Linked DNA regions of Homo sapiens: regions 1 and 3 are each linked to region 2. Evidence: promoter capture Hi-C in 16 types of primary human blood cells and fetal thymus (Javierre and others, 2016). All regions are on one chromosome and are shown on one strand. Each heading gives the region's core, a stretch centred on a gene start or on the middle of the fragment in contact. The rest is flanking DNA. Distances are from core to core; before and after follow the strand shown.

What was found. Contacts are between HindIII fragments. The CHiCAGO score rates a contact against its expected background, and 5 or more counts as called.
Region 1: a fragment that was not itself captured here is called in contact with the fragment with the promoter of SLC18A1 in region 2 in 1 of 17 cell types (neutrophils); the score reaches 5.6 in neutrophils.
Region 3: a contact is called between a fragment that was not itself captured here and the fragment with the promoter of SLC18A1 in region 2, in 1 of 17 cell types (neutrophils). The highest score is 5.4, in neutrophils.

What each region holds. Positions count from the first base shown.
Region 1 is chr8:19,621,431-19,625,591 of GRCh38, forward strand. The region is part of intron 1 of CSGALNACT1 (chondroitin sulfate N-acetylgalactosaminyltransferase 1); the gene reads right to left. Among named protein-coding and RNA genes, the nearest start is that of CSGALNACT1-AS1, 55 kb to the right of the region's middle. The HindIII fragment of the contact is 1,398 bases long and covers 1,732-3,129 here.
Region 2 is chr8:20,180,277-20,184,529 of GRCh38, forward strand. SLC18A1 (solute carrier family 18 member A1) reads right to left here and starts at 2,860. Exons shown (of 16, transcript NM_003053.4): 1 at 2,787-2,860; 2 at 565-811. The coding sequence starts at 688. The HindIII fragment of the contact is 10,670 bases long and covers 1-4,253 here.
Region 3 is chr8:19,638,112-19,642,265 of GRCh38, forward strand. The region is part of intron 1 of CSGALNACT1 (chondroitin sulfate N-acetylgalactosaminyltransferase 1); the gene reads right to left. It overlaps LOC124901900 (a long non-coding RNA gene), which reads left to right and starts at 3,040. Exons shown (of 3, transcript XR_007060842.1): 1 at 3,040-3,112. RefSeq lists an enhancer at 1,671-2,215. The HindIII fragment of the contact is 1,544 bases long and covers 1,558-3,101 here.

The sequences.
Region 1 (4,161 bases), core at 1,181-3,680, 560 kb before region 2:
GAACAAGTGTACTTCCAACATGAATACTTGTTGATATTTTCTTCTAATAATATATTATTAGAAATAATGTCCAGGCACAGTGGCTGTTATGTGTAATCCAAGCACTTTGGGAGGCCAAGGCAGGAGGATTGAGGCCAGGAGTTCAAGACCAGCCTGGGCAACGTGGCAAGACCCAGTCTCTACAAAAAATATTTTTTTACATTAGCCAGGTGTGGTGGCAAGCACCTGCAGTCCCAGCTACTCAGGAGGGTGAGACAGGAGGATCTCCTAAGACCATGAGGTTGAGGCTGCAGTGAGCCATGATCACACCACAGCACCCCAGCCTGGGCAACAGAACAAGACGCTGTCTCTAAAAAATAAAAATAAAAGAGTAAAACAACACATCATTCACTCATCAATGGCAAGAGTGATTCCTTTGCTAAGTCAGATAATTGTTTCTGATATGAGAATATTTTCCACAATTTTTTGTGCTATTCACAATGTAATGCTACAGACAACAGATACTATTAAGTTTAATCTTCAATTTTCTTCATCATTTTTCTTAAGCCTACACAACAAACAATAACTCAAGTCCTGGTATGTAGTCGATACTTCCATAAAGTAAATAGTCCATTGTGGCCAATTTCAAGCTACAAAATGGCCACTGGTTAACAGAATTTGGAAGAAAAGCACAGTGGAACACGGTTATGTAATATTTTTATAATACAGGTATAATGCACTCCATTGTTTCACATTTACAAAACTTCTCAATGTCTTCCTCCAGGTCATCATTAAAATTTGTCCCTATTTGTTGAACTTGACTAAACACGGTGGTTGTTTTATTGTTTAGGGATCCTAAATATATCCATGTTTGAAGGTTGAGATGTAATTCCAAGCACTATCTTTATTAAACTTGGCTACAATTCTGTGGAATGACTTCACTCAATAGTGTACTTGACCCAGATCTTATTGGTTCATGAGAGACAACTATTAAATTTTCAGGAATTTTACAAGCCAGTTGTTAAATGTAACCATTGTTTAAAAGAAATCGTATGAACTTATAATTAAATTATATTTCAAAACAAGGATTAAATATTCAAGATTCATCACTTCCCATTCCTATTACTACATTTTACTGTTACCTAGAAGTTATTCAGGATAGTAGCATATAAATTTGAAAGGGGTATAAATGGAGTTAAAAGTATTTTAAAGCCCTTGCATTGTCCAGGAAGTGGTAAAAGTACTACTTTAAATTAGCCTTTAGTAAGTCAAAGATAAATACACACTCTCTAATGTAACCACTACAAGAATGTAAAATAATGTGTAATTAATAAGCTAATAAAGAGGGGGGAAATAAAAAAGTAATACTTAACTGAAAATAAGGCAAGAAAGGAGAAAAAAAGAAACAAGAAATGGGTGAGAAAAATAGAAATTAAGTAGTAAGATGGTAGATTGAAAGCTAAATCTGTAATTCTATTAAAGGCCAATAGATACCCCAATTACAAGACAAAGATTGACACAGTAGATAAAATAAAATTGAAGTATGCTGCTTAGATGACGGGTTGATAGGTACTGCAAACCACCCTGGCACATGTATACGTAGGTAACAAACCTGCACATTCCACACATGTATCCCAGAACTTAAAGTAAAGTAAATAAAAAAGAGGCATACCTTCAACATAAGGATATAGAATATTTGACAGTAAAGGGTTAAAAAACATATGCAAATACTAACCAAACAGAAACTGGGAAAGCTTAATCAAACTAGACTTTAAGGGAAGAACCACTGTCATCAGATTGATATAGCAATTCTAAAGCTGTATGCATATAATAACATGTCCTTGAGACAAAGAAAAAAGTGGATGAATTAAAGGGAGAAGTAATAATAATCCTTAATCATAGATATTTTAATATACCTTTCTCTGGGGTTCACAGAGGAAACAGGAAAAACAATCTGTGAAGATATTTTGAACAAAAATGTTTCTATACTTTTGCTTTTAACCTCTCTATAACCTGAATTTGAGAAGTCAATCTCATAAACAGCATAAAATATCCTGTCACATTTTTTAAGAATTGAACAATACTATTAACACTCTTCAATACTATATCCACCAACTGTAGAATGTGAATTATTTTCAAGAGTAAATAGAATGTTTACAACAATTAACTACATGCTGGGCCAGAAAGCAGTACTTAACAAATCTCTAAGAATTGAAATTACACAGAGTAGGTTCACAGACCTCAGTAAAATTGAGCCAGAATAACAGAAAGATGACTGGAAAATCCCCAGGTGTTTGGATATTAACCAATAAACTTTTAAAGAATTCATGAATCAGAAACTACTTAGGACCTATTGATAATAAATCCTTTCGGAGGGGAAATCTCTAAGCCAGAATGGGCTTTTCATCTATTCACTGAAAGTGGGGAAATAATGGTCCCTCTTAATGATCTAATGACCTAAGATGATTTCTCTCTTGTATTAATGAATCATGTACTTAAGCCTGTGCCTATGAAGGAGGCTCATCTTACAAGGTCTAGGAGATCACTGGAGGCAAATGGCGAAATATTTTAGATCCGGTCCCCGGGCAGCTACTCCATGGAACACAAGAATCTTCTATTTTATAATGAGCAGTGGCATAGTAAATTACGTGCTAAACCCTTTGTCTTTTCTTCTAGTGCCCAGCACCATTCTCCTAGTGGTAGAATGCCCACCATCGGTCCCTAGACTATTTGGACCACCTCTTCAACAGTGTAGCCCCTCTGAGATTATCTACCATCTACTACCTCTGGTTCCTGATAGCCCTTATTGTCAAGGGATTATTATCTTGACTTTCACCTGGCTAAGAGACCTGCCTCTGATGTTTGAGATTATATACATAAAACCCACAAAAATATTCTGGATTTAAAAAATTTTGTATTCTCCACCAGTGAAGATCTCATCATGCTTTTATCTCCTACTGAACTGCTTACATGTCTTTATGTACTTCCTGTAGCTAGTATAAACCATAAAGCATTTAGAACATAGAACAAAGATAATATTCAAAAGATAATTTTAAGTGTTTAAAAATAGCCAACACAGTATATTAATTGGAGTAATTAACACTAAGTACTGCACACATGCCCCCAAATCTCAGTGGTTTAAAACAACAAAGCTTTAGTTCTCTTTTGAATCACTCTCATGTGTTAATGGAGTTTGGAGTCTCCCCCAAATGGTGACTCAGAGGATCAGGCTACTTCCTTCCATCTTGTACTTTTACCATCTTCTTGTTTTTTTTTTTTCTTTTCTTGAGACAGAGTCTCGCTCTGTTGCCCAGGCTGGAGTGCAGTGGCGAGATCTCAGCTCACTGCAACTTCCGCCTCCCGGGTTCAAGCGATTCTCCTGCCTCAGCCTCCCAAGTAGCTGGCATTATAGGCATACACCACCACGCCCAGCTAATTTTTCTATTTTTAGTAGAAATGGGGTTTCACCATATTGGCCAGGATGGTCTCAATCTCCTGACCTCGTGACCCGCCCACCTCGGCCTCCCAAAATGCCGGGATTACAGGCGTGAGCCACTGCACCCAGCCGGTTTCACCATCTTCTTGCTTCACTGTCATCCTGCTATCACCCAGCTAGTAGATGCAGAGGAACAAAAGATAAGCCTAATCAACGACTGAACCATCTCAGCCAGGAAGGGACACGAGTCAGTTCCATTCACATTCCATTGGCCAGAAAGAGTATCACAACCCTACCTAGATGGAGAGGGACTGTAAAGTATAGTCTTCCCAGTGACCAGGAGGGACGTGGGGTGGTCTGTGACACACATCACGCTGTTTCTTCCTCCAATAGGCATTAAACTGCAGTCTATTAAGGAGGAAGAAAAGAAAGGAAGTAGCATTCACTGATTTGGGGTACCAAGTTTAATGCTACAAACTTCATACATGCTGTGTTTAAACAGTAAGAAAACGTAAAACAAATGTCATTCTCCTCATTTTATACATGAAGAAACTGAAGCATAGAGCTATTATATAAGTAAATTAAAAAGTCAGGAGTTGACTCCAGGTCTATCTGACTCCAAGGCCTGTGTTTCTCTTTTATCATCCCAGGTTTCTCAAAAGGTGGCCCACAGCTCACTTCTATCACAGTAATTTGAGGTGCCTGAGCCTCACACCTTGCTTACTGAATTAGAATATCCAGGGCTG
Region 2 (4,253 bases), core at 1,610-4,109:
TTTTTTAAAAACATATGTTTTACCCAAGAGGAGAAACCTTTTAGTGCCCATTTATACAAGGGTGTAACTTAATGTAATGATTAGGAGAGTATCAACTAAAAAAAGCAGGATTCTGAGGGAAAGAACCACAAGGAAGGCAAGGTCTTGATACTAAATCAGATATCCAAATAAAATATGCTGTTTTTATAGAGCAGAGTCCAGAAAGGCACCCCTGTGAGAAGATCTCGCTGCCTCAGAGGCACTTGGAGTCATTAGCACCTTGAGAAGACAGTGTGGGGAGAAAGAAAAGCACAGCCAGTTCTGGCTCCGGGCCATCCTCTTCTCCAGTCAGACCCTCTCTGGACCTCCTGCTCTTTGAACCTCCTGAGTCTTTTAGCTGTGTTTGACAAGTGTCAGACTCCATTTTCTGCAGGGCTTTTTTCCAGTCCCCAACAACCTCTGTGTGTTTTTGAGCATAAAAAGGAAAATTCTCAGATGGATTCACTGTTGAACTCAAGCAGGGTGTACACTGCCTGCTGGGGCCCACAGCAAATTAACCCTCAGCACAAAGACCCACAAACGTACCCACCACAGTAAACAGCATGTTGTCCAGGAGCAAAGCGACGAATACCACCACCAGCACCAGCTGCCGGGACGCTCTCCCCTCCTTCAGCAACCGCTGGGGAGCATCCAGAATGGTCCGGAGCATGGTGATGGCCGGACTGGGGCAGTCTTCCCCTGCGGGCTCTTAGGGAAGGTCCTGTGACAGCTACAGGTCTCCTGCAGCCTTTATGGAAGAGGGGAGGGAGTCTGCCCAGACGAAGGAAACTCACTATTAAAACGAAAAGTGCAAAGGGTTGCAAGTAGTAGGATGATATTTGGAAACATCTCCATGTCTGTATCACTGTTCACTTCTTATAAATCTCAATAACTCTACCTGGTTCCCAGAATGCCTTCCTGGTAAGCATCGCTTACTAGCTATTTATGTCTGGATTTATATCTAGCCATTAATTTCCCTTGAATTTAATGGCTAGGTATAAATCCAGATAAAAATAGATGCTCTACAGATCACTTAACCCTGTGTTTTTCAAACATCCGACATTTATTTGCCTATCACCTTGATGGTTTATGTCATATCTAAGGACTACCTGTACTATCATTTACTTCATCTTTTTCCTCTAGATCCACTCTTTTAAAATATTGAGATACTGCCAGGTATGGTGGGATGTGCCTGGAGTCTCAGTTACTTGGGAGGCTGAGGTGGGAGGATATCTTGAGCCCAGGAGTTTGAGTCCAGCCTGGACTACATAGCAAGACCCCTAACTCTCAAAAAATTTTTAAAACCAACATAGATATTGATATCATGTTTCAAAAAGTTATTTTATGTGGCATGCAAAAAAAGTATGACCTTTGTTCTAGGTGCTACCCCAAAATATTTCATGTGGCACAGTGTCACTTGGGCTGCCCACTGAGAAACACTGATGTAGACCAACCTTCATCTCATAGACAAGAAATCCGAGCCTCTGAAGGTTAGGAGATTTGTTTGGGGTTGCACAGTTAGTGTCAAACTGGGATGAAATCCCACGCTTTTCAACTTGCCAGCTTATCCTCTACCATGTTCCCTTGCTCTGTGGTTCTAGAAGCACGCTCATTCTTTTGTTTGAGCTACAAACCCCTGATCAGAAAGATGCCTTCATCTGTGAAAATAAAATATTGACTTTCATGATTAGTTCTCTATTCAGGATTTCATATCATTAGTCAGCATTAAGTCACAGTACCTTGTCAAACTTCAAGTAATAAGAGTTTCTGGGGAGAATTTCATTTTCTTTGACGTGGCTTCTGTTGTGGTATCAACAATATCACTCATTTAAATTTTAAAATAGATTACCATCATGAAATCTATCAGGCCCTAAAAATTGTATACTCTTTGACTTAGTAACTCTACTACAAGGAACCCATCCTACAAAAGAAAAAAGGTCAGAGATGCAGCCAAAGACTTATACTCAAAATGATCAATTGCAGAATTATTTTTCTTAGTGAAAAAAGTCAAACATGTTAATGGTGGATTATTAAGCGGCTCTTAAAAATTATATTTTCAAATAATTTTAATGATACAGAAAATACTATTACTATAACGTTAAGTAAAAAAGGGAAATTAAACTGTGTTTTCAACTTTATCTCAATTGTCTAAATATAAATATATGGGCACATTTTTGAGAGAGTAGAGAGATACTCAAATGCCAGTTATTTATAATCAATGACTTCAGTTATCTTCTGTGTATTTCTAAATATTCAATAATGAGCTACTTTTGTAATTAAAGAAGTAAATAATTTTAAATGATTATCACTGAAATTCAATAGTCAGCCTCAGGTGTTGGGAGTACCCCAAACACTGAGGTACTCTGTTCTAAGCCCAGGGCTGGAAGAACCCTCTCACTACTACATATTAACGTGACCAAGGTCCTAAGTGAACCAAATTCTCAGTTAAGTTTTAACCAGTAAATGCATGCAATTACTTAAGATCCTTCATTTCTCTATATAAAGGAGGTATTTCTGAATACAAATTGACTTAGGATATGTATGGATAAGAATAAAAGACAAGCCATGGAAAATTAAAAAACATAGTGAGTGAAGTAAGTACTACAAAGAGAGAGAAACACACACACCCAAATCCCAAAACAAAAACAAACAAAACCAGGAATTTGCCAACAAATCAATAGTAAACTTTACTTAACAGTCAAAATCCTCTGACAGAGACACAAATCACAAGGAAAGATTAAATTTGTCCGGAGAGAGAAAAATCTTACCTTGGAGCCCATGTTGGTGTGAGGCACTCAGTGAGGTATTGGCAGCTGTTAGCAAGACAGCAGGGACACTGTTCTCTGAACGTGGATGTGCTGTTGGATTTATTGCCTCCTGTTATCTGAGGATTCTGTGTATGTGTGTGTGTGTGTGCCTTTGTCCACAAAGATTTAATTGCAACCTCCAACAGGGTTCATTCAGACCCTTAGCTCCCTGCGTCAAAGGCAGGAAGGCAGGGCTGGAGAGGATAAAGAGAGGGCAGATATTAGCCTAAGCAAAGAGGCACTGGACTGTACTGTTTTGCATCTGTGCTTATCTATCATCGAACTCTTTAACTCTTGCCTGGGTCTGAATACAAATTGGAAGCCAAGATGGAACCAGTGTGCAGTTCCTGTTCCTTGCTACTTAGTCAAAGTGGCTCCATGTACCCCAATTAGCTTCCTGGAAAGAAACAATGTATGTTGTTCTCAAGCCATAAAAACCCAACATCTGTGGCCTCTGTAAAGGCTTAGATTATGCACTGTGTCTTCACATCTCAATACTGGCTCAGTGCCTGATACATGGTAGCATCCAATAAATATTTCTTGCATGGATGACTGGATGGTTAACTACAGGAGAAAGTGCAGTTCCTTGTGGGATCTTGAGAGGCTCTAATGATCTATATTATTCTGACATTAAACCATTGGTGGCTCAAAGAACATAAGCAATTTATGAAAAAGCAAATACACTTTACGAGCAAGAGCAGTGCAGAGATTTCCTATTTGTGGAACTGGTGGGCCCCTCCTAATTGTGGGAATTAACTAGGGAACTTTCGATTTAACGCTAAAAAAAAAGAAAATAGTTTTTTAATTTTATTTTTTTTATTTTTGAGACAGAGTCTCGCTATGTCACCCAGGCTAGAGTGCAGTGGCATGATCTTGGCTCACTGCAACCTCCACCACCTGGGTTCAAGCAATCCTCTAATCTCAACCTCCTGAGTAGCTGGGATTACAGGTGCATGCCACCATGCTCAGCTAATTTTTGTATTTTCAGTAGAGACAGGGTTTCACCATGTTGGCCAGGCTGGTCTCGAAGTCCTGACCTCAAGTGATCCTCCTGCCTTGGCCTCTCAAAGTGCTGGAATTACAGACGCGAGCCACAGCGCGCGGCCTAGATGGAAACAGTTTTAAAATGTAAACCTAGAGCGAGAAATAGGGATAGGAAACAAAGACATCAGCAGAATGTATTCATCGCTATAGTTTGCTGCTGTAACAAATTACTACAATCTGGTGGCTTAAAACAACACGTATTTAGTATCTTGCAGTTCTGGAGGTCAGAAGTCCAAAATACATCACACCGGGTTAAAATGAATGTGTCGGCAGGGCTGCATTCCTTCTGGAGATTCTGGGGGATGGTTGTTTCCTTGCCTTTTCCAGCTTCCAGAGATCTCCTGCATTTCTTGGCTCCTAGCCACTTTTACCCTCAAAGCTAGC
Region 3 (4,154 bases), core at 1,080-3,579, 540 kb before region 2:
CTAAAATAAGCTAGGAGACTCATTTCTAGCTTCCCAGGCCCTCCTTTGTATTGAAACTCCCTTCCCTGCCTCCTTAGGACAGCCACATCCACCTCACCCTTCAGGTCTCAGCTCAAATGTCCGCTCCTGAGAGAGGTTGGGCTTGAGAGGCTGCCCTCCCTGCCTCAACTGTGTCTGCTGCTCCAAAAAGCAGAGCGGAAAATGGGCAACAGACAAGCCCACCCAGAAGGGAAGAAAAGCACTGCCCCAAGTGGCGATCACACCCATCGGTGCCCACTTGTCTTTGGGTTCAACCTAACCTTGGACCTCGCCTTCTTTTTCCTGCCCTGTAAGATTACTCTCAGTTAATTGTTCTAGTTATTTCTGGTTCTCAGCAGCATTACAATATTTTGCTAAGATAAGGTAAAAGGAACTGGATGAATCAGAAAGGGAACAAGTGAAAAGGCTAACAATAAGGGGCAAAGAAATATTTAAAATGTATTATAATTAAATAAAATCGAAATGCACAAAAGACTAACCCAACTGGAATTTAAATAGTTCTATGAGATCTTTGAAAGAAGTGATCATATAAGTGAGAACAGAACGGGAATAGAATCCTGTTCTATAGTCACTGGGTGGTAACTTCCCTAAGGCTAGAGACAGAGTGTCAATTCATTTGCTCCCCACCAAGAAAGAGCTGAACTAGGCCTGTGGGAAGGTATTTTGTAAATTCAATAGATGATCATTATTCTTAAAGGCCACATTCTGATGTAAAAGCATACACCGAGACTTACTTTGCACATCAAAGTTACAACTTCCAAGGTCAGTTAAAACTACCACATACATAATTTGCAAAAGGCTTTTACTACTGTAAATGCCTACTTTCTGTGTTCTTTTTCTGTTTTTTTATGGCTCACCAATAAAGAGGTATATCATGATCACCTCTTCTCTAACGACTCCTCCCCTGCCTCTTCAGGACTCTGAAGGGGAAAATTGACAGTAAATATGAATGTTTCCCTAGCCCCTCTAAAAGTACAAAATTAAAGAGGCCTGTTATCCTGTAATGAAAATGTTCTACTTAAATGAAATCTCATTTTCAAGTGACCCAACCACAGAACAATCAACAATAACAGGCTTTATGTCCAAATGGGAGAGGAGAAAGGCACAGCATGCTTGCCCTTGGTTAAGAAGGGTTGTATTTAAACAATGAGAGACAAACATGTCTACATCATGGGGTCTGGGGGAAATATGCTAGCTATTGTTGTTTTTGGATTAATGAGAATTTTGCTCCCAATTTTCCACAGAATGGTTTTTATTTTCTAATATTTTCATTGCACCATTAACCACTGCCAGGAAGAAGCCAAAGAGTTGCTAAAATCTACTGTATCACATGTGAAACAATGTGGAAACAGGTCTGTCACAAAACTAGGGTACCCCCATCACTCTTGGTCAGGGCACATAGTTCCATAGCAGGACCAGGGAGGAGATACTCAAAATGGGTAATGAATATTGAAAACTATGTATCATACCAAGTCTTGGGAGTCAGGAAGATGGGGCAGGTAATTTAACATTTGACAAAGCTTCCCTCTCTTCTTCCACCTCAAGGGGAAGAGAGCTGCTTTTCTTAATCAGGCCATCCACAACGTGCAACTGCTCTGACCCGCTCCATGTCATCATAAACAAATGGCAAAATATTAAGGAGTCTCCTGAATTTATAACGATATATCCATTTGCATTATCTAAAATGCTCTTTGGAACACTCACTTTTAAGAACAGTTTTGTTTTGTTTTGTTTTTGTTTGTTTTTTTAATGAGACAGTTTCATTCCGTCTCTCAGGCTGGAATGCAGTGGTACAATCACTGTCCATTGCAGCCCAGACCTCCCTGGGCTCAGGTGATTCTCCCACCTCGGCCTCCCAAGTAGCTGGGACTACAGGCGCACCACCATGCCCATTCAACCAAGCTCAGTAAACGATCCCACCTGCTGATGAGACCTTTCAATGTTCAATGCACCTGGGGGGAAATAACAAAGATATATAAGGTATTTTATTTCCCTCAATGATACTGTAGTGAGCAAATAGCTTATTAACATCTCCCATCTCAACCTCTAGCACTTGCCAGCCACACATCAGTGTAATATTTGTATATTTTGCTCACTTTATGAAATGTATTTATACATATGTACATTTACATATATTACACATGTATGGAAAATGACTATGCAACAAATTTAAAGCACATGATCCCACACATGTAAATCTCCCAACTCTCAAATCTCACTGTTTTCTCCTTGATTCCTGAAATTCTCCAGACTCCTTGGAATTCAGCTGCTAGAGTATTCTTGACTGAACATCAAACTGCTGCTAAAGACATTCTCAATGTAACTTTGAGTCCCAAACACAGCCATATTTTCATTTACTTAGGTAAAATGATTACATCTGGAAAATGTACTTGGACTCAAACTCAAAATCAGTTCTCCACTACATAAGAAAATAACAACATTAATTCTAAGCAGATTCTTCTAACAGGGAAGCACTATATAGCATTTCTCAGTAGTTGATCTGGCACACTTGAATCTAATCTGAATTTCTAACAACTTTGCTTCAGAAGTTTTTCCATGAAATTTGGTCTTTGCCTGACTCGCATGCTATAAATTCTATTAACCAAACTCTGCAGGCCCTTACACTATTCTTAAACAATTCTACACTTGAAAAAAGATTATGAAATCTTTAGCAAACACACTCTGTATTTCAGAAAGTAGAATTATGAGCTTAAGACTTAAGTTTTGGTTGTTTTTTTTTTCCTTTCAGATTATCCAAAAGGCTGGATTCAGTGCCTGAACAATCATTTTCTAAGACAGAGGAATGAAACCATAGAGAAACCCATTAGAGTTCAGACTGATCCTGTGAGACTCAGGCTGCTTAAACACAAAGCAGGATCATTTTGTAATCCATTTCTATTAGGTCTCTCCTTCCATGGAGTTCTCAAGTCTCCCAGGGATGCGGAATCTACCTGTATTACCAATAATGGTGACTGGTCTTTTTTTTTTTTTTTTTTTTTTTTTTTAAACCAACCCTCTCTCTCCCCTTCACTTCTCCTCCCAACAAGACCTTCAAGTGTTCAAGCTTTTCCAGGTACCACAACGCCAGCCTCACCCAATCCCTCTATGCCCACAATCCCTACCCGTCCTGGGGAGTCTGGGCTTTCTCCAGTGATAACAGATGGAAGTTAGTTGGATAATAAACCAAATCACATCAGATTTACAAGCTGCCTTAATCTAGTTCAGAAGATGCCTCCTAAAAGAGGCTGCTGCTGAGACTTGGAGCAGCAGGGCGAACCTGGGAGAACTCTCATTTTGGAGCTCTTCAAATGTTTTTATCTGGACAGCTGCAACCATACCAGTCCTACTGCATGGGAAACTCCATTAAAACAAGATGTCCACAGGAGTGGACACGATCTTTCAAAAAGAAGTACATTGTAAAAAATGTTTCACAACACACACTCAACATACCTTTTTAAATGTATGAAACATATTGAAATACGAGGGTGAAAACAAAGAAAGAAACAAAACCTGTAGGCATTCACTCATATCCTCCCATAAGACTGCCTTAAATGCATTTACAAAACACACACCTTCCTAGATAATGTACAGAAGAGGCAGAAAGTGACTGAAAGCAAAGTGATGGCTCATAATTACCAGGTGACCCCCAAATGCCTTCTGGTTGTTGGCCGGGGCTTTGCTACACAGTGTCCTCAGCAATTTTTTTCTGCGAAGGGACAGATACTTAAATATTTTCAGCTTTGTGGGCTCCATGAGGTTTCTGCCTCATCTTCCTCTTTGGTTTATTTTACAACCCTTTATAGGTGTAAAAACCATGTAGTCCAATCACCTCTTCCTTGGGAGATATTTGGGCAACGCCTGATGTCTGTGTCTAACTGGACATCAGTTAGGAAGAGTACTGAAAACTAAGAGGCTTCTGTTTGAAAGGAAAATGGCTTGTTAAATAGGCACTAAAACAGAGTTCCATTCTGCCTGAATCATTTTGTTAGCTTTACACAATTCCAAGAGAAATCTTAGAGACATCTGTGTTTCCCTTTAGTTTTTATTTTGTTTGTTTTTGCTGTAGGAAGGGTAGAGATCAGAGAAGACAGAAGAGAATGAATCTTGCAAAATGA